4 separate regions of the Homo sapiens genome follow, and all the other regions are linked to region 1. The links are contacts of gene promoters, found by promoter capture Hi-C in blood cells and fetal thymus (Javierre and others, 2016). All regions are on one chromosome and are shown on one strand. The core of a region is centred on a gene start or on the middle of the fragment in contact, and the rest is flanking DNA. Distances in the headings are between cores, read along the strand shown.

Region 1 (4,464 bases), core at 1,341-3,840:
GCCTCTGGGTTGTAACTGCCCGTGTACTTGTCTGTGTTCCCTAAGCCAGATCATAAGCTCTGAAGCTGAGGATGGTGGCTGTAGATGGCAGTACTTGTCTGTGTTCCCTGAGCCAGATCATAAGCTCTGAAGCTGAGGATGGTGGCCGTAGATGACAGGCCTGGATGCAGCCAGGTGCCTTGTGGATCAGCTTGCTTTTAGGTGGTGAAGGACTGACCATAGACAGTGGCCCTGGCATTCCAGGACACTGCATGGGGGAAAGTGGAGGGCCAGGTCCATCCCATCCCCTCTATAAGCTGGACAAAGCTGCTCCAGCATGTGGGTCCTCACATGAAAAAGGCCACATTGACATCCTTTGTCCTCCTGTAGAGGGAGTGAAACTGAGAGGCCTCAGCCTCAAGCAGGCACAGAACTTGAGACCTCTCGGCCAGAGTGTACAGACATTGCACAAACCTTCCAAGTTCAGAGAAGACAAAAGCCCTGAGTAAATTACAGACAAAAAAGCCCCCAAATATACAGCACTGTGAATCCAGAAATGCCACCTGACTTCAGGTCACAAGGAAGAAAAACTGATTTTGCCAGAAGTAGCCATTATTGCACAGCCCAGTTATAATCACAACTGACGTTAAAGTCAGGCCAGATGACCACAGAAGTCTACAGAAAAAAACCAGGATTGGCCACGCGTGGTGGCTCACGCTTGTAATCCCAGCAGTTCGGGAGGCCAAAGCGGGTGGATCACCTGAGGTCAGGAGTTCAAGACCAGCCTGGCCAAGGTGGTGAAATTCCATCTCTACTAAAAATACAAAAACTAGCTGCCATTGTGGCGTGCACCTGTAATCCCAGCTACTTGGGAGGCTGAGGCATGAGAATTGCTTCAACCCAGGAGGCGGAGGTTGCAGTGAGCCACAGTCGCACCACTGCACTCCAGCCTAGGTGACAGAGCGAGACCCTGTCTCCAAGAAAGGAAAAAAAAAAAAACAAAAAAAAACACCCCCAACACCAAAAAACAAAACAAAACAAAACAAAAAAACAACCAAACAACCAGGACTGAGAAAATCAGGCTTTAGCATGAAATGTTTTCCCCTAAATTCAGACCAATGTACCTCAAAAACCCAGTTGTAAAGCTTAAGTGTCTAGTGGGTTAACTATCCCACCCAACCTCCTAAAAAGTGTTATTATAAAAGGAAAAAGGGGAGAAAGGGTAGAGGAGAGAAAGGTGGGCCAATGGCTACTGTTCAAGGAAATGGTTTAAATGGGGCTGCCACGTGGTTATGTGTCTGTCACGAGAGGCTTGTTAAGCAGTTAGCACTTGAGTCATTTTTCTACACTTCCATTCAGCCAGGCAGACAGCTGTGGTTATGAGTGGGAACAATTTTGGCCATTATGTGGTGTGGCTTGGTTGAAAATGCTTATGGCAAGCTGCCTAAGGCACCGCAAACAGCAGCATGCCTCCTTGAGCACACAGTCCTTCTGCTCATAAATTCTCTCTCTACCTCCAACCTGGCCAGCCCTGCCAGATCCCTTTCCCTTCCTCTTGGAGCACAGGCCCAGCCATGGCCTCCACTACTCAGTCACTGCACAGTTCCTGACCCACACATACCCCTCTATGTGCTCACCATCCTCCTTAGTCCTGTCCCAGGTGCTCCCCAAGTGACCTGACATTGAGCTCCAGCTGTTGTTCTTTGAACACCCAAGACCCTCATCTCCACCCCATGGCTGAGGAGTTCTGGATTTGGGGTTTGATGGACCAGTAAACCTCTGCAGACACCATCTAGGGACTGACACTGGGTTGCGAACTTTTTATTTTGCAAGATTGAATATTTGAAAACAACTCAAACTCCTGTCTAAGGTTCCTGTCTTTTAAAAAACAAACAGAAGGCCAGGCACAGTGGCTCACGCCTGTAATCCCAGCACTTTGGGAGGCCAAGGTGGGTGGATTACCTGAGGTCAGGAGTTCAGGACCAGCCTGGCCAACGTGGTGAAACTCCATCTCTACTAAAAGTACAAAAATTAGCCAGGCGTGGTGGTGGGCACCTCTAATCCCAGCTACTTGGGAGGCTGAGGCAGGAGAATTTCTTGAACCCAGGAGATGGAGATTGCAGTGAGCGAAGATCATGCCATTGCACTCCAGCCTGAACGCCAGAGGGAGACTCTGCCTCAAAAAACAAACAAACCAACAAACAAACAAACAGAAAAACATTGTCACACAGACAAAACCAATATGGAAAACTTCCAAAGAAAGGGTGCGGCATCACTTTAACGGGTGAGCACAGCGGCCCTGGCAGCCTCCAGGCTCTAGGTGGCACTGGATTCTTTCTGACAAGTCCTCATCTGGGCTGTCAGAGACCTCCGCTTTGAGCTGCGCTGCCATAGAGCTCTCTGGAAGTCCCTTGCTCCTCAGGGTCCAGTCCGAATGCGCCTTTCACGAGGCCTCTCAGGCCATCCTCAGGAGAAAATAATTTCTCACTTTGGCCAGGCGTCGTGGCTCACGCCTTGCAATCCCAGCACTTTGGAAGGCTGAGGTGGGCGGATCACTTGAGGTCAGGAGTTCAAGACCAGTCTGGCCAACATGGTACAACCCCGTCTCCACTAATTAGCTGGGTGTGGTGGTGGGCGCCTGTAATCCCAGCTACGTGGGAGGCTGAGGCAGGAGAATTGCTTGAACCCGAGAGGCAGAGGTTGCAGTGAGCTGAGATCGTACCACTGCACTCCAGCCTGGGTGACAAGAGCGAGACTGTCTCAAAAAAAAAAAAAAAAAAAAAATTCCACCTGTGAGGCCGGGCACAGTGGCTCACGCCTGTAATCCCAGCACTTTGGGAGGCTGAGGTGAGTGGATCACCTGAGGTCAGGAGTTCGAGACCAGCCTGACCAACATGGTGAAACCTTGTCTGTACTTAAAAATACAAAAATAAGCCGGGCGTGATGGCAGGCGCCTGTAATCCCAACTCCTTGGGAGGCTGAGGCAGGACAACTGCTTGAATCCAGGAGGTGGAGGTTGCAGTGAGCCGAGATTGTGCCGTGCCATTGCACTTCAGCCTGGGCAACAAGAGCGAAACTCCGTCTCAGGAAAAAAAAAAAAAAAAAATTCCGCTTGTCAATTTTTTATAGCAGAGACTGCCATTTTTAGGCAGTGACTGTTCTTTGTCCTTCGATGTCTGTTCTTCCCAAATTCTATAGTAGAACCCTGGGCTTTTAGTTGGACACACGGATGACTGAAATAATGATATTTCCTAGTACCCCTTGCTGTGGTCTTGTGACTAAGTTCTGACCAATGGGAAGTTGAAATGGGCAGTATCCTATTCAAAGAGATTGGGTGCTGTTCTTTCCTCCTTCCAGCAGACTGGAATGAGAATGTAATGGCTGGAGCAAGGGCAGTCACCCTGCACCATGAGGCGGCAGCCTTGTGTTTGAGCTGAGGATGGTAAAACAAGATAGGAGCCTGTGTCTGATGATCATGAGCATCACACTAGCTCTGGGCCAACTATGTTTACAAAAGAGGAGGAAAATCATCTCTCTTGTTAAAAGTCACTATAGTTTGGCTTTTCTGTCATTTTCAACCAGTCTAGTCCTAGCTAAAACAAACTCCAGCCTATCTTAGGACAGGGCTGTTCTCTGCTGTTCAAGAGTGGGAGCTCTCTGACGGCAGTGATGTGTGATTTGGCTTGGTACCCCCCAAAGGTTATCATATACAGTTGGCAATCTCAATACTTTGTGGGATGAATTTCAAAGAAAAAAGGTTTCTAGGTTAAGTATTTGTAAAAACCAAAGTAATGGCATTTTGTGCTTTCCTGATTTATTAGCCCATCTCAGGATTAAAATAAAATGAAGTTCTAAAGAAATTATCAGAGACTGGGTCACAAATTTATATAAAAGTTTAGTGAGTGCTGCATTATTAAGAATAGTACCAAAAATGAAAACCTAAGCGTTTAACAATGGGGGTTGGCGAAAATAAATTTTAGATTGAGAAAAGTGTCATAACACAAACTTTCAAGGTGACAAATGATAGAAACCTGAACCCAAGATATATTTTAAAAATATATCTATATACACATAGCGAAAGCTTATAAGGAAATACAGCAAAATGTTAATCTCAGCTGGGTGTGGTGGCTCATGCCTGAAATCCCAACACTGGCAGGACAAGACAGGAGGATTGCTTGAGGCCAGGAGTTCAAGACCAGCCTGGGCAACACAGCAAGACCCCATCTCTATAAAACATAAGAAAAATTACCCAGGTGTGGTGGCATGTGCCTGGGAGGTCAAGGCTGCAGTGAGCTAGGATCACACTACTGCACTCCAGAATGGGCAACAGAGTGAGACCCTGTCTCAAAAAAAGGAAAAAAGCATCTTTGTGTGACAGGACTACAAATGATTAAAATTTTCTCTTTGCATTTGCCTTTTTTTTTGAGACAGAGTCTTGCTCTACTGCCCAGGCTCAAATGAGGTGGCGTGATCTCGGCTCACTGC
Region 2 (4,009 bases), core at 1,429-3,928, 860 kb after region 1:
CAGGACTTGGCACCAACCCTATGGTCAGACATCCTGCGCCAGATCAGTCACCAGTGCTGAGGCCAGTCTCAGGCCACTTCTCCTCTCTGTCCTTTCTCTCTCCAGTCTTGTAGCTTTATGTATGTATGTATTTATTTGTTTATTGAGACAGAGTCTCACTGTGTTGCCCAGGCTTGAGTGCAGTGGAACGATCTCAGGTTACTACAGCCTCCGCCTCCCGGGTTCAAGTGATTCTCCCGTCTCAGCCTTTGAGTAGCTGGGACTACAGGTGCAGGCCACCACCCATGCCTAAAACAGCCCTGGCAGAAGCATTCAATAGACACTTGCTGAATAAACACGTGCTGGGCCCCTTTGCTACTGATGGATTCAACAGCCCTAAGATTTAAAAACATACACACACACAACTTTGTTTCTGTGAAGATGACCATCCTCTCGCCGGGCGCGGTGGCTCACGCCTGTAATCCCAGCACTTTGGGAGGCCAAGGTGGACGGATCATGAGGTCAGGTTAAGTTTTGTATTTTTAGTAGAGACAAGGTTTCGCCACGTTGGCCAGGTTGGCTTGAACTCCTGACCTCAGGTGATCCACCTGCCTCAGCCTCCCAAAGTGCTGGGATTACAGCGTGAGCCACCGCGCCCAGCCAGCACATTCTAGCCTAAAAAGATGCCTTATTTTAATTTTAATTTTCACTTTTCTAATGTCTGTCTTCCTCCCAACCAGAATTTAAGCAAGCACCATGAGAACAGGAACTCTGGTTCCCATCTGCACCCCCCCATGCATAGAACAGCCCTGGCAGAAGCATTCAATAGATACTTGCTGAATGAACTCAACTCTCTGAGCAACCAAACACAAAGGTTCAGACAATTGGAACCCTGGAAACCAAAACCCCTCTCTCATCCAGAACAGGATTTTCTTTTCTTTAACAGTCAACGAGAGGAGAGTTTTCATCGGGCGGGAGCATCTCAACCTGCTAAAAGGGATTCTCCAACCTCCCTGTGAACCAGTTGCAGCCACAACTGCCAGGACGCACCTCAGCCTAGCAGGGGTTATGTCAAGAAGCCCACGTCTGTCACCAGGCCGACTGCGGTGCTGAGCAAAGAATCAGGGGATCCACCTGCTGGTTTCACCTCTGCAAACTGACTCTAAAACACTTCACTCTGCTCACATCAGGCCCCATCTACCAAAACAAGTAACAGAAAGAATTGACCTTTACACTCAATTGTCCACTACAGTCTCATAAAAACCTTCTGAGGTAGGCGTTATTGTTATTAAATACAGGCCCAGAGAGATTAGGCGACGAATCCAAAGGTCGCACAGACACTAAGCAGTTGAGCAGATTCAACCACTGGTGAAACGCCAAGCCCAAGTTTCAACCACCCCACCATCACCTTCAGTGTCACCTCTGCAGACTTGGGAGGGACATATCTAGGGTGGACCAAGCGCTGGCCAGGACTCACCTGGGCTGAAGAGCTGAGCCCAGAGGAGCTGGTGGTCTTGAAGCAGCTCCGCCGCTGGCATGTCCAAGAGCTCCAGCATTTCCTTCCGTGCCAAGTCCTGCAGCGCCTTGAGCTCCTTGGCTGCTTTGCTTTTGAGCACCTGGGGGTTAATGGGGCCAGAGACGTGCACCACCCACAGCACCGTCTCATCCAGCTGCGTCTTGGGAGCCACTTGGAGGCGGTTCACCAGCTTCTTGGCGGCCACCACCACCAGGTGCACCAACCCAGTGGGCGTAGGCGGGGACCGGCCTGAGTAGAGGAGGAACTGATGGTCTCCGACCTTCTCCAGGGTACTGGTGAAGGCCTTGGGGGCTGGGCCGGCAGTGGGCCCCACAGTCTGCAGCGCGGCCACGCGCTCCGTGGGGTTGTTGAGCTGGATGCGCTGCAGGTAGACGTGGGGTCGGCCCCTGTGCGCCAGAAAGTCCTCTTGCAGCAGCACGCAGTCGCGGCCGGACCCCGCGGCAAGGCCAGAGACGGAGGCGGGCCCGGGGCCGGCGGCCACGGGGCCAGGACCTGGGGACCCCAGCTGCAGGCAACGCACGCGGCGCAGAAGCCCCTCCCGCAGCAGCAGCACCGCCTCTCCAGCTTCAGCCAGCGCGCTCAGCGGGCGCAGCTGCACGAAGGGCACAAAGTCCGGCGCCACGGCGGGCTCCCGCTCCCCGGGAGTCACCCACAGCCGATTGGCAGCCACGTCCAGGGCCAGGAAGCCGTTGGCCACCAGGGCCGGCACTCCAGGACCCAGCGGTACCACCTCACCGCGCTCCCGCAGGCCGCGCCAGGCGCGGGTGGCCGCCTCCAGGCAGGCAGACGGCTCGGCGGCGCCCGGCTCACCGCGGGACCAGGGCAGCAGGTGCAGGCCGCCCGCCGCCCGCCGCGCGCCGGACCCCCCAAACCACAGAAGCAGCAGCAGGAGGCCAAGCAGGCAGAGGAGGCGGCGGGCCCAGCTGCTCGACAGCAGTCCCGGCAGCCCCTTGAGCCGCTGCTGCAGCCACATCGGGCCGCCAGGCGCGGGCAAGGGTGCGAGGGCGGCCGCCGGGCCCGCCGCCCAGCCCACCGGCCCGGCCGCCCGCGCCTCACTGCCCGGCCCGGACCGCGGCGCCCACCCCGGCCCCCGCCGCAACCGCCGCAGCAGCCGCCACCCCTGCTTCCTCCTTCTTCTCGGTGGCCTCCAGCCGTCAAACGACGCCGGCGGTCAAGCGTCGCCGTGTCTTTTACGACAGATGGAAAACGGGAGGGCGGAGGGAGGAGAGAGAGCAGGCCGGAGAGAAGGGGGCGGAGCCACGGCGAGGGCGGGACAAAAGCTGCCGGGGGCGGGACCACTCGTTCCCAGGCCGGAAGAGTGAAGTCCAGTGGAGTTAAGTGCAGGGGTCTGGGGAGGACTGGAAGCATCCAATTCACTCGTGAAAAAAACATCGAGCCAGCCAAACCGAACACGTGTTGGGCCCCTTTGCTACTGATGGATTCAACAGCCCCAAAATTTAAAAACATACACACACACACACACAACAACTTTGTTTCTGTAAAAATGACCATCCTCTCGCCGCGCGCGGTGGCTCACGCCTGTAATCCCAGCACTTTGGGAGGCCAAGGCGGGCGGATCACGAGGTCAGCAGTTTGAGACCAGCCTGACCAACATGGTGAAACCCCATCTCTACTAAAAATACAAAAACTAGCCGGGCGTGGTGGCGCATGCCTGTAATCCCTGCTCCTCAGGAGGCTGAGGTAGGAGAACTGCTTGAACCCGTGAGGCGGAGGTTGCAGGCTTGCAGTGAGCCGAGATCACGCCACTGCACTCCAGCCTGGGCGACAGAGTGAGACTCTGTCTCAAAAAAAAAAAAAAAAAAAAAGACTATCCTCACTGCAAAAAAACACTTGGAACAATACGAAAAAGTGGAGGAAAAAAAAAGGAGAGAGAAGAAGAGGAAGAAAGAAGAAGAAAGGAAAAGGGAGGAGGAGGGGAAGGGGAACCACCAGAGGCCAGGAGTGGTGGCTCACGTCTGTAATTCCAGCACTTTAGGAGGCTGAGATGGGCAAATCACTTGAGGTCAGGAGTTCGAAACCAGCCTGACCAACATGGTGAAAACCTGTCTCTACTAAAAATACAAAAATTAGGCTGGGCACGGTGGCTCACGCCTGTAATCCCAGCATTTTGGGAGGCCGAGGCCGCCAGATCACGAGATCAGGAGATCGAGACCATCCTGGCTAACACGGTGAAACCCTGTCTCTACTAAAAATATAAAAAATTAGCCAGGCGTGGTGGCAGGCGCCTGTAGTCCCAGCTACTCGGGAGGCTGAGGCAGGAGAATGGCGTGAACCCGGGAGGCGGTGCTTGCAGTGAGCCAAGATCGCGCCACTGCACTCCAGCCTGGGTGACAGAGGGAGACTCTGTCTCAAAAAAAAAAAAATAAATAAATAAAAATAAAAAAATAAAAATGCAAAAATTAGCTGGGCGTGGTGGTGGGCGCCTGTAATCCCAGCTACTTGAGAGACTGAGGCACGAGAATCGCTTGAACC
Region 3 (4,068 bases), core at 309-2,808, 920 kb after region 1:
TAATGTATTTAACCCAAATGACCCAAAATATTATCACTTCAACATGTAGTCAGCATATAAATAGTAATGGGCTAATAGCCCTGCACTGTGGCAGGTACCTGTAACCCGGCATTTTGGGAAGCCGAGGCAGGAGAAGATTGCTTGACTCCAGGAGTCCAGGAGTTCAGGACACCAGCCTGGGTAACAAAGTGAAATGCTTCCCCATGTCTACAAAAGATAAATACTAGGCATGGCTGCAGCATCTGTGGTCAGCTACTTGGGAGGCTGAGTGAGGTGGGAGGATTACTTGAGCCCAGGAGTTCGAGGCTGCAGTGAGCCGTGATTGCACCACTGCACTCCAGCTTGAGTGAGAGTGAGACTCTGGCTCAAAGATAGATTTTTTTTTTCTTTTTTGAGACGGAGTCTCTGTTGCCCAGGCTGGAGTGCAGTGGCATGATCTCGGCTCACTGCAACCTCCACCGCCCGTGTTCAAGCGATTCTCCTGCCTCTTCCTCCCGAGTGCACTATCATGCCTGGCTAATTTTTGTATTTTTAGTACAGACGGGGTTTCACCATGTTGGCCAGGCTGGTCTTGAACTCCCGATGCACCCGCCTCGCCCTCCTAAAATGCTGGAATTACAGGCTTGAGCCACCGCGCCCGGTCGATATTTTTTTTTCCTAAAAATTGAGATAGTTTAACAGCCTTTTTTGTCCTAAGTCTTATAGCGCATCTCCGTTTGCACTGGCTCAGGACTCGAGAGCCACACGTGGCTAGTGCCTACTGTTCTGGCGCGCTCAGGCTTGGAGCCTTCTCTGCGGAGGCCAAGTCCTGCAAGGGATCTGTTTGCTGCGGTTTCCTAGTAGTGTCTGCCGCATCACTGGGGCCCGGTGATCTGGGTAACCATGTGAGCTTGGGTAACCTCTCCTCTCCCTCTCCTGGGACTGCTGTGGACGTTAAATACAGCGGTGGATGTTAGAGACGCAGTTCAGTCACTGGCATTGATTCGCCGTTGTTGCTGCTCTTCTTTCCTCAAAGGCGACTGAAGGGCAGCAGGCCCATGCTCGCTTCTGTCTGCCCGATGAGTCACTTCACCCTAGGCCTGGCCCTCTAGAGAACACTCCTCTAAGATTACAGAATGCAAATCTGGATTCCAGAGCTGGCAGAGGCCCCAGGGTCAGGCTCTAGGACAACCGGCGAAAAAGCGGGAACCTCTACTCCACGCCCTTGGTTTTTCGCCCCTTGACAGCTTGAGGCTCCGCCCCGCTTTGCCCCGCCCCCCCAGCTCCGGCCGACGCCCACCGGAACTACAGCCCCCATGATGCAGTGGGAGTCCGAGCCTCTGCGTCGTCCGCTTGGGACGCGCCGGCGGAGGAGTGGCGCGCGGAGGAGTGGCGCGCTGAGACGCCGCTCGAAGCGCCGAGTCGCGGGGCAGCAGAGGCGTAAGGAGTAGGCGGGGCGAGCCGGCTGGGCTCAGGGTCCACCAGCTCACCCGGGTCGAGGGGCAATCTGAGGCGACTGGTGACGCGCTTATCCACTTCCCTCCTCCCGCCTCCCCCTGGGGTGGCGCTCGCTGGTGACGTAGTGAGTGTGATGGCCGCCGCGAGGCCGGGAAGGTGAAGGTGAGAGGGCGAGCAAGCCGGGGTGGCGGGGACTGGCCCGGCCCGGCCCGGCGAGTCCTGAGCAGCTCGGCGTGGGCCGACGGGATTCTGGGGCCACGGGGGTCTGGGATGCAGTCAAGCGGGGTCCCCACTCTCCGGCCTCGCCGCCGGGCCCTCCCCGGCCCTGAGAGGAGGGGGCGGGCCACGGGACCTGGGACTGGTCGGTGGGGTCCCCTGTAGCTTCTCATCGCCCCCGCCTTTCCACCCTTCACGGCCATGTTCTACCCCTGCCCCTTCTCTATTTTTCATCCTGTCTTCATTTTGCCAGCATTTACTCAGCACCTGATAGGTGTCCACGTTCACCGCGGGAGCGCCCTGCCATCCCCACTTTGGGCAGTTACTGCCTTCTCGTTCAGCCCTGTTTACTTATATGACTTCTCACCGGACTGTAAGGCCCTGGAGGGCAGGACTGTTTCTTATCCATTTCTAACGTGGCGCCTGACACACACAGAGAAGGCACACAGAAAATGTTGAATAAATAGCTGTTAAGACGCACGAAGGCAGAACTGCCCGTTACCCCCTCTCGTAATCCTTCATTGCCCTCTTTAAATTCTCAATCATCTCTCTCTCTTCTACCCAGAAAAGGGCTCTGGTTATCTCTTTTCTACCCAGAAAAGGGCTCTGGTTATCCGCCTCTGGTGTCCCAAGGTTTGGGGCTTGGGGGAGGAAGGCAGCTCAATGTAGTTAAAAAAGGAAGGAGGCCGGTCGCAGTGGATCACACCTGTAATCCCAGCACTTTGGGAGGCTGAGGCGGGCGGATCACCTGAGGTCAGGAGTTGGAGACCAGCCTGGCCAACATGGTGAAACCCCGTCTGTGCTAAAACCAAAAACTAGCCGGGCTTGCTGGCACACGCCTGTAATCCCATCTACTCAGGAGGCTGAGGCAGGAGAATCGCTTGAACCCGGGAGGCGGAGGTTGAGCCGAGATCGCGCTGCTGCACTCCAGGAGCTTTGGAGTCAAAGGGAGCTAATATTTCAGATCCCAGCTTAGACAAATCTTCAAGTATTCCAGCCCTCTGTCCCACAGAATAGAGAATTAAGTGAGATACTTTACAGTAGCTGAACACATTGGCTTTCAGTCAGTTCTTCTGTTCCTCAATAGTCAGCTGTTCCACAGTCCTCAAGCCCAGTTTTGTTCCTAGTTTTGCTCTGTCCTCTTCTCCCCTCTCTGGATGTACCTTTCCCAGGGCTCCTGCAGGGACCTCCGTGGTGCCTCAAACCCGCACATGGCGGAATACGTGTGCACAGTCAGGATTGGTCCCACACCTCTGCGTTTTTTTCCCCAGGGCACTTCCTCACATGCCAGCGCAACTCCCCAATACCTCAATGAGTAAGCTTCCCTCAGGGATGAGTTTGTTTGGCTTGAAACCTGATTAGACATGTTTTGTACACCAGTGTTTTTTTTTTTTGGACACCGGATCCATCTCCCTTTTCTTTTCTAATAAGTCAGGACTGGTGGAGTCAACACAGTCAATCAATAGCCAACCTCAACCTGAGACAGGACAGAAGAGAACTCAGAATCTTTTTGTCTTTTGGACTTCAGCCATGTCCATGATGCCTACCCTGTGAAGATCTCTCACCATCCAAAAAAGTAAGTAGTAGCTGTGACTTCTGGCACCCTGGATTTGAGCTGAGTGGACAGGGGTGTGCTCTCCTGGACCTCTGGTGGCAAGTCTCTTGAATGGCATCCTCTTTGTATAGAGCCACAGCTTTCTAACTTGTGTTGAAAAACTACCGTATCTTTTACTTCCGTGAAGGATTTCGCTGGTTGCTTAGAGAGCCTGTTTAAAAGTTGACAGTTCAGAAGTGGCTGGGATCTCTTGGGCTCCCTGAAGAGTTAGTCTCTGTCTCCCTCATTTGGTCTCTGCTGTGCTGGCTCTTCCCCATCTCGGCCCAGCACAGGTTGGCTCCTTGTCACTGCTCTTTTAAGACTCTGCTCTGTCCCCTTTACCCTGTATACTCTTTTTGTTTCGATTTCTCAGCTTCTCCTCTTTTCCAGTTGTGCCAGCAGACGATCCGTGGATCCATTTTATTTTCCCTGCTAGGAGTTGCTGTACATAACACTGGGTAAGGAGGTGGTGTGGATTCAGGGACTGTGCTTGGGATCCAAACACACCTTGCAGTGAATTTTGCTACTGCTGTCTCTACACCCAAGATACCTAATACTCCTCAACGAATAGCCTAGGTTGAGGCAAAGCTGTTGACCACCTTGGAGGGCTAATAGCAGTTTCCATTTAGAACTGGGTTCATTTCTGGTCTTAGGTTAATATTTATTAATACTGTGCCCTGGCACTTTTTAGGGGTAGGGGCAGGAGAGTACCAGAAAGAGTGGGCTTTTCCCTAAAGTGTGATCCTCGGGATTTTAAAAGCTATTACACAGAAGGGTTTTTTCATTGATTATATTTGTGAAATGCTGAATTCAACACAGTT
Region 4 (4,083 bases), core at 821-3,320, 630 kb after region 1:
CACCCTTTGTTTAGCACATCATCAGGAAATAACCATAAAAATGGGCAACCAGCAACCCTTGGTGCTGTGCTGTCTATGGAGTAGTCATTCTTTTTATTCCTCTACTGTCTTAATAAACTTTTTACTCTATGGACTCGCCCTGAATTATTTCTTGTGCGAGATCCAAGAACCCTCTCCTGAGGTCTGGGTCAGGACCCCTTTCCTGTAACAACATGGTCCTATCCCAGCTCCCTGTCTGATGTCACCTCACTCTGTTCCAGACTGACTCTTCTCCACCAAACACACCAAGCACACTCCCGCTCCAGGACCTTTGCAGTGGCTCTTCTGCTTGCAAGTCTTCTCCCCACAACCACGTGGCTCATTACCTCCTTTTCTTTGCCAAAAGAACTGCCCCAGCAAAGAGGCCTTTCCTAATAACTTTATGTAAAACAACACCTCGTCCCTTCATGCTTTGTCTGTAATGTGCTTTACTTTTCTTCATAGCACTAATCACCACCTGACATCATTTATATTTATTTGTTCACTTATCTTCTGTCTCCTTCACTAGAATCTGAGCTCCATGGGGGCAGGGATTCTTGTCCATGTTGTTTACTACTGTACCTCCGGTGCCGGCACATAGTAGGTGTTCAATAGGTATTTATGGGATGGATGACTCAAACCTTTCAGTGAATAAACAGTTCAGTGTTCTCATCAATCCATCCTGGTGCCCACCAAGCTAATAATATCACGGTAACAATGGCAGCTAATTTTACAGGAGCATTTCCTATGGGCCAGACCTTAGAAACGTTATCTCCTTACACAGGGCACTGCATTCACGCCTAGAACACTGAAATTTAGGTATAATCATGAGCTCAGAGGTCAGGCGACTTGCTCGAGGTCATAGGGGACGGCATCAGAAGAGGAACACAGACATTTAGCCTGACGGCAGAACTGTGTTCTAAAACCTCAAAGTCATAATTTGCCACACGCTGGAGAAAGAAAACAGTCGAAATGGAAGCCACCTGGCGAGCTCAGGGCGCCAGGTGGGAGCGCTGCTTCCCACATATGGGAGTCCGGCCCCATCGCTCTTTGATCTTTGCAGCGTCCGTGGCCCCACCGACCCCGTCGTGAGTTATGGGAGGCACGGGACCCATAACCCAGCATTCTCAGACTCCCAGGGTCGTCAGGACACGGCGCCCCGCGCGGTGATGGATGAGCCGGCCCCAGCGCTGGCTTTGTCCGGGTTGGGCCGGTCTGAGAAGCTTCAGGCCGGCTTTGGACGGGGCGTGGCGAGAGCCGCGCCGCGTGTGAGTGTGTGTGTGTGTGTGTTTGTGTGTGTGTGTATTGGGGCGGTTGTCTTTCTCCCTTCCCTACCGGGAAAGAGGGCACAGGTGCGCCGTCAGCGCCCCAGGTGAGCTGGTAGCACTTTGAAGACCCTTTGTACCCCTACATCCAGGAGCGACCTCTCGGAGAACCCCGCCTGCCCACTCTGCGCACTTTCTGCGGCTACAAAGGCCCCGCCGTTCCCCGTCCCGCCTCCCCCGCCCTGGGCATTTCTTCCGTCCCTTTTGACAGTCTAGGCGGAATAATCCTTTTGTGGCCCCGGGCCCCTGCCCTGACAGACGCGGCCGCAGCTGAGCGCGCAGCCTCGCTCCATTGTTGGGGTCCACCGAGGACCGCCCGCCGCGGCCCTTTGTCGCCCGCCCTGCGCGGGGCCGCTCCAGAGGCGCCACAACTGCCGGAGCCCCTCCCGTCCCACGCGCCCTGGGCCGCGCCGAGGCGGCTCTTACGCACCGGGAGGAGTGGGCCTGCCTCGCCCGGTGCCCGCACGGCTGCTGGGCTGCGCCCGCCTTTGTCTGCCTCCTTTGTCTGCCCCGCGCCCTCGCGGCGGCGGCGCCTAGGCCTCTGGGGAGCTGGCCCAGAACTCAGAGCGCAGCTGGCGAGGGCGCGCTGGCCGGGTGCGCGCCGGGCCCGGCCCCGGGGCTGCCCCTCGGCTGGGGGCAGTCGAGCCCGCCACCCGCCGCCCCTCCTCTGTCCCCTCCCCGCGCTCCCGCCCCCTTCCCTCCTGCCCGCCCACTCCCCCTTCCTTCCAGTCCCGCTCAGCCCGGGCACATCCTCCGGCTGCCCGCGCACCTCTCCACGCCGGCCCCGTTCCGCGGCTCGCCCTCGGCTGCGCTCGGCTCCCGCGGGCGCTCGGCCCCGAGCCCCTCCTCCCCCTACCCGCCGGCCGGACAGGTAAGGCACGGCCTCGGCCCGCCCCTGGCTCCGCCCCTCCCGCCCCACCTGGCTGCGAGCCCGGACAAAGGTGGGCTACCTGGCGCGCCCAGGGGCGGGGTGCGCGGGGTCCCGAGGCTGGAAGTGAGGATGCTGCCTCCTTCCCAGCCCTCGGACCCGTCTATCCGCCAGTCCTTCCGCCGCCTCCTCTCCTCGCCGCGTCTGCCCACGGACCCTGGCTCTGCTCCCGGGCTCCCCATCCGTCCACCTACCGCTGGACGCCCACTTTTCCACGCTCTGACACTCGGCCTCGCGCGCGCCCTCGCCGCCCTCTGGGGTCCCGGCTCGCACCTACTCTCCTCGGCACTAGCCTTCTCTCTCCCTGACCCAGTCTCCCTTTGTCTCTCTGTCTCTGAGTCTCCGGGTGGTCTCTCAGGCAGGGGGCCCCAGTCCGCCACCGTTGGAAGAAGTCTTCGAAGACTCCCTGAGCCCCGGGCAGAGCTGGCGGGCGTGCCCTCCAGCCCCTTTCGAGGCCGCCCAGGAGGCTGGGGTGTGTGGCCGGGGTCGCTGAGTGCGCCCGGAACCAGCACCGCCGGTGGCCCCGCGCCGTCCCATCTGTGCCCAGGAAGGTACTCAGCCTGGCTCCCCCGACGGCGCTGGTCTTTCGCCTGTGGTCTCCCGCTCTGTCCCTCCTGCTCCCCACCGCCGGCTTTTGGCTTTTCTCCGTCCGCTCGTCAAGGGTCTCAGCCGCCTTCGGGGCCGGGGTATGAGATGAGAGAGGGCTGGGGTTTCCCGCCAAGTCTTTCTTGCTTTCCTCAGCTGGGTGCTCCCTGGGCCATCCTCTCCGCCCGGTGGTCTCCCCTGCCCTATATGCTCCCTCCACGCTGCCCACCTCCCAGCCCAGTGACACACTGGTGTCTGGAACCGGTTCAGTACTATGCATCTGGAGTCGGGTACACTGGGGCTCTGGGAGTGATCTCGGACAAAGGAATGCACCTCTCTGAGCCTCAGTGTTCCTGTCACAAAACAGGGATGGTGCTAGTCCCTACCTATAGGGATGTGTGTGGAAATTGTGGGGTGCCGCTTGGTGCTGGTTCACACACCCTGTGGAGGAAGGGAGGGGAGGGGAGGGGAGTCTACAGACCTGGGATGGGGTGGGGACAGGGGGCTCCACAGAAATGGATCTCAAAGTCAAGGCTTAGAGACACTTCAGAGTAACCCCACCACCACAGCCTCTTCCCCCATCACACTTCCTGTCACCTTCACCTCCTCGTGCCCATACAGGCGTCCACACCCTTGCAAGCACTCTTCTCTTTCTCTCTCTCCTCCTCTTTGCTTGTCCTAAAATCAGCTAAAACAATCAGGGCCAATGGGTCACTTTTTTTCAAAATGAGATCAGTGTGGCTGAGCTGGTGTTGCCAACAACTGATCACCCATCAGAAGGCGTCCGGTGACTCACCCCCAATTCTGAACCTCAGTCTTGGCTTGATGCCTTTAATAGCGGCACCAGCTCACAGGCCACTTCCTTTCCTCTGAGGGGATTGTCTTGCTGGCTCCTGGACCTGCTGTGTGCTTGCCCAAGCCCCCTGACCACTGTCTAGGTGGTCATAACATGTGACACACCACTCCAGGAGTCTGGCAGTGACGTGGCCTGAGTGTCTTAATGAGGGCAACTTCAGAAGAGGGAAACCTCCCAGCTGGCAGGTTCCAGGCTCCCCTGGCTGAGTTCTTATTTCAGCCACAGCCAGGGCTGGCAACTGGAACCTTTCTCTTTAGAGGCAAGAACGGCTGGATATCCCCACGACATCCCCCATCCAGGCTCCTGCTCGAAATCCGACCTGGCAGACAGGCCCTACTTTGGTGAACCCGGCCCTTCATACCATCTCTACC

Evidence for each region. The method cuts DNA at HindIII sites, captures the fragments that hold promoters and counts their contacts. A CHiCAGO score of 5 or more calls a contact.
Region 2: a contact is called between the fragment with the promoter of KIAA2013 here and a fragment that was not itself captured in region 1, in 4 of 17 cell types (naive B cells, total B cells, monocytes and 1 more). The highest score is 7.4, in naive B cells.
Region 3: a contact is called between the fragment with the promoter of MFN2 here and a fragment that was not itself captured in region 1, in 5 of 17 cell types (total B cells, naive B cells, naive CD4 T cells and 2 more). The highest score is 13.4, in total B cells.
Region 4: the fragment with the promoter of DRAXIN here is called in contact with a fragment that was not itself captured in region 1 in 2 of 17 cell types (naive B cells and M0 macrophages); the score reaches 6.4 in naive B cells.

The regions. Positions count from the first base shown.
Region 1 is chr1:11,061,797-11,066,260 of GRCh38, forward strand. No RefSeq gene overlaps it. Among named protein-coding and RNA genes, the nearest start is that of SRM, 4.0 kb to the left of the region's middle. RefSeq lists an enhancer at 1,580-1,659. The HindIII fragment of the contact is 2,936 bases long and covers 1,123-4,058 here.
Region 2 is chr1:11,923,749-11,927,757 of GRCh38, forward strand. It overlaps KIAA2013, which reads right to left and starts at 2,679. Exons shown (of 3, transcript NM_138346.3): 1 at 1,457-2,679. The coding sequence starts at 2,489. RefSeq lists enhancers at 1,623-2,285, 2,286-2,949, 2,604-2,898 and a silencer at 2,534-2,603. The HindIII fragment of the contact is 9,969 bases long and covers 1-4,009 here.
Region 3 is chr1:11,978,886-11,982,953 of GRCh38, forward strand. It overlaps MFN2 (mitofusin 2), which reads left to right and starts at 1,559. Exons shown (of 19, transcript NM_014874.4): 1 at 1,559-1,599; 2 at 3,085-3,229. RefSeq lists silencers at 1,175-1,434, 1,605-1,844 and an enhancer at 3,301-3,400. The HindIII fragment of the contact is 7,841 bases long and covers 1-2,971 here.
Region 4 is chr1:11,689,640-11,693,722 of GRCh38, forward strand. It overlaps DRAXIN (dorsal inhibitory axon guidance protein), which reads left to right and starts at 2,071. Exons shown (of 7, transcript NM_198545.4): 1 at 2,071-2,214. It also overlaps a transcript of MAD2L2 not described here. RefSeq lists enhancers at 369-878, 879-1,386. The HindIII fragment of the contact is 12,625 bases long and covers 1,240-4,083 here.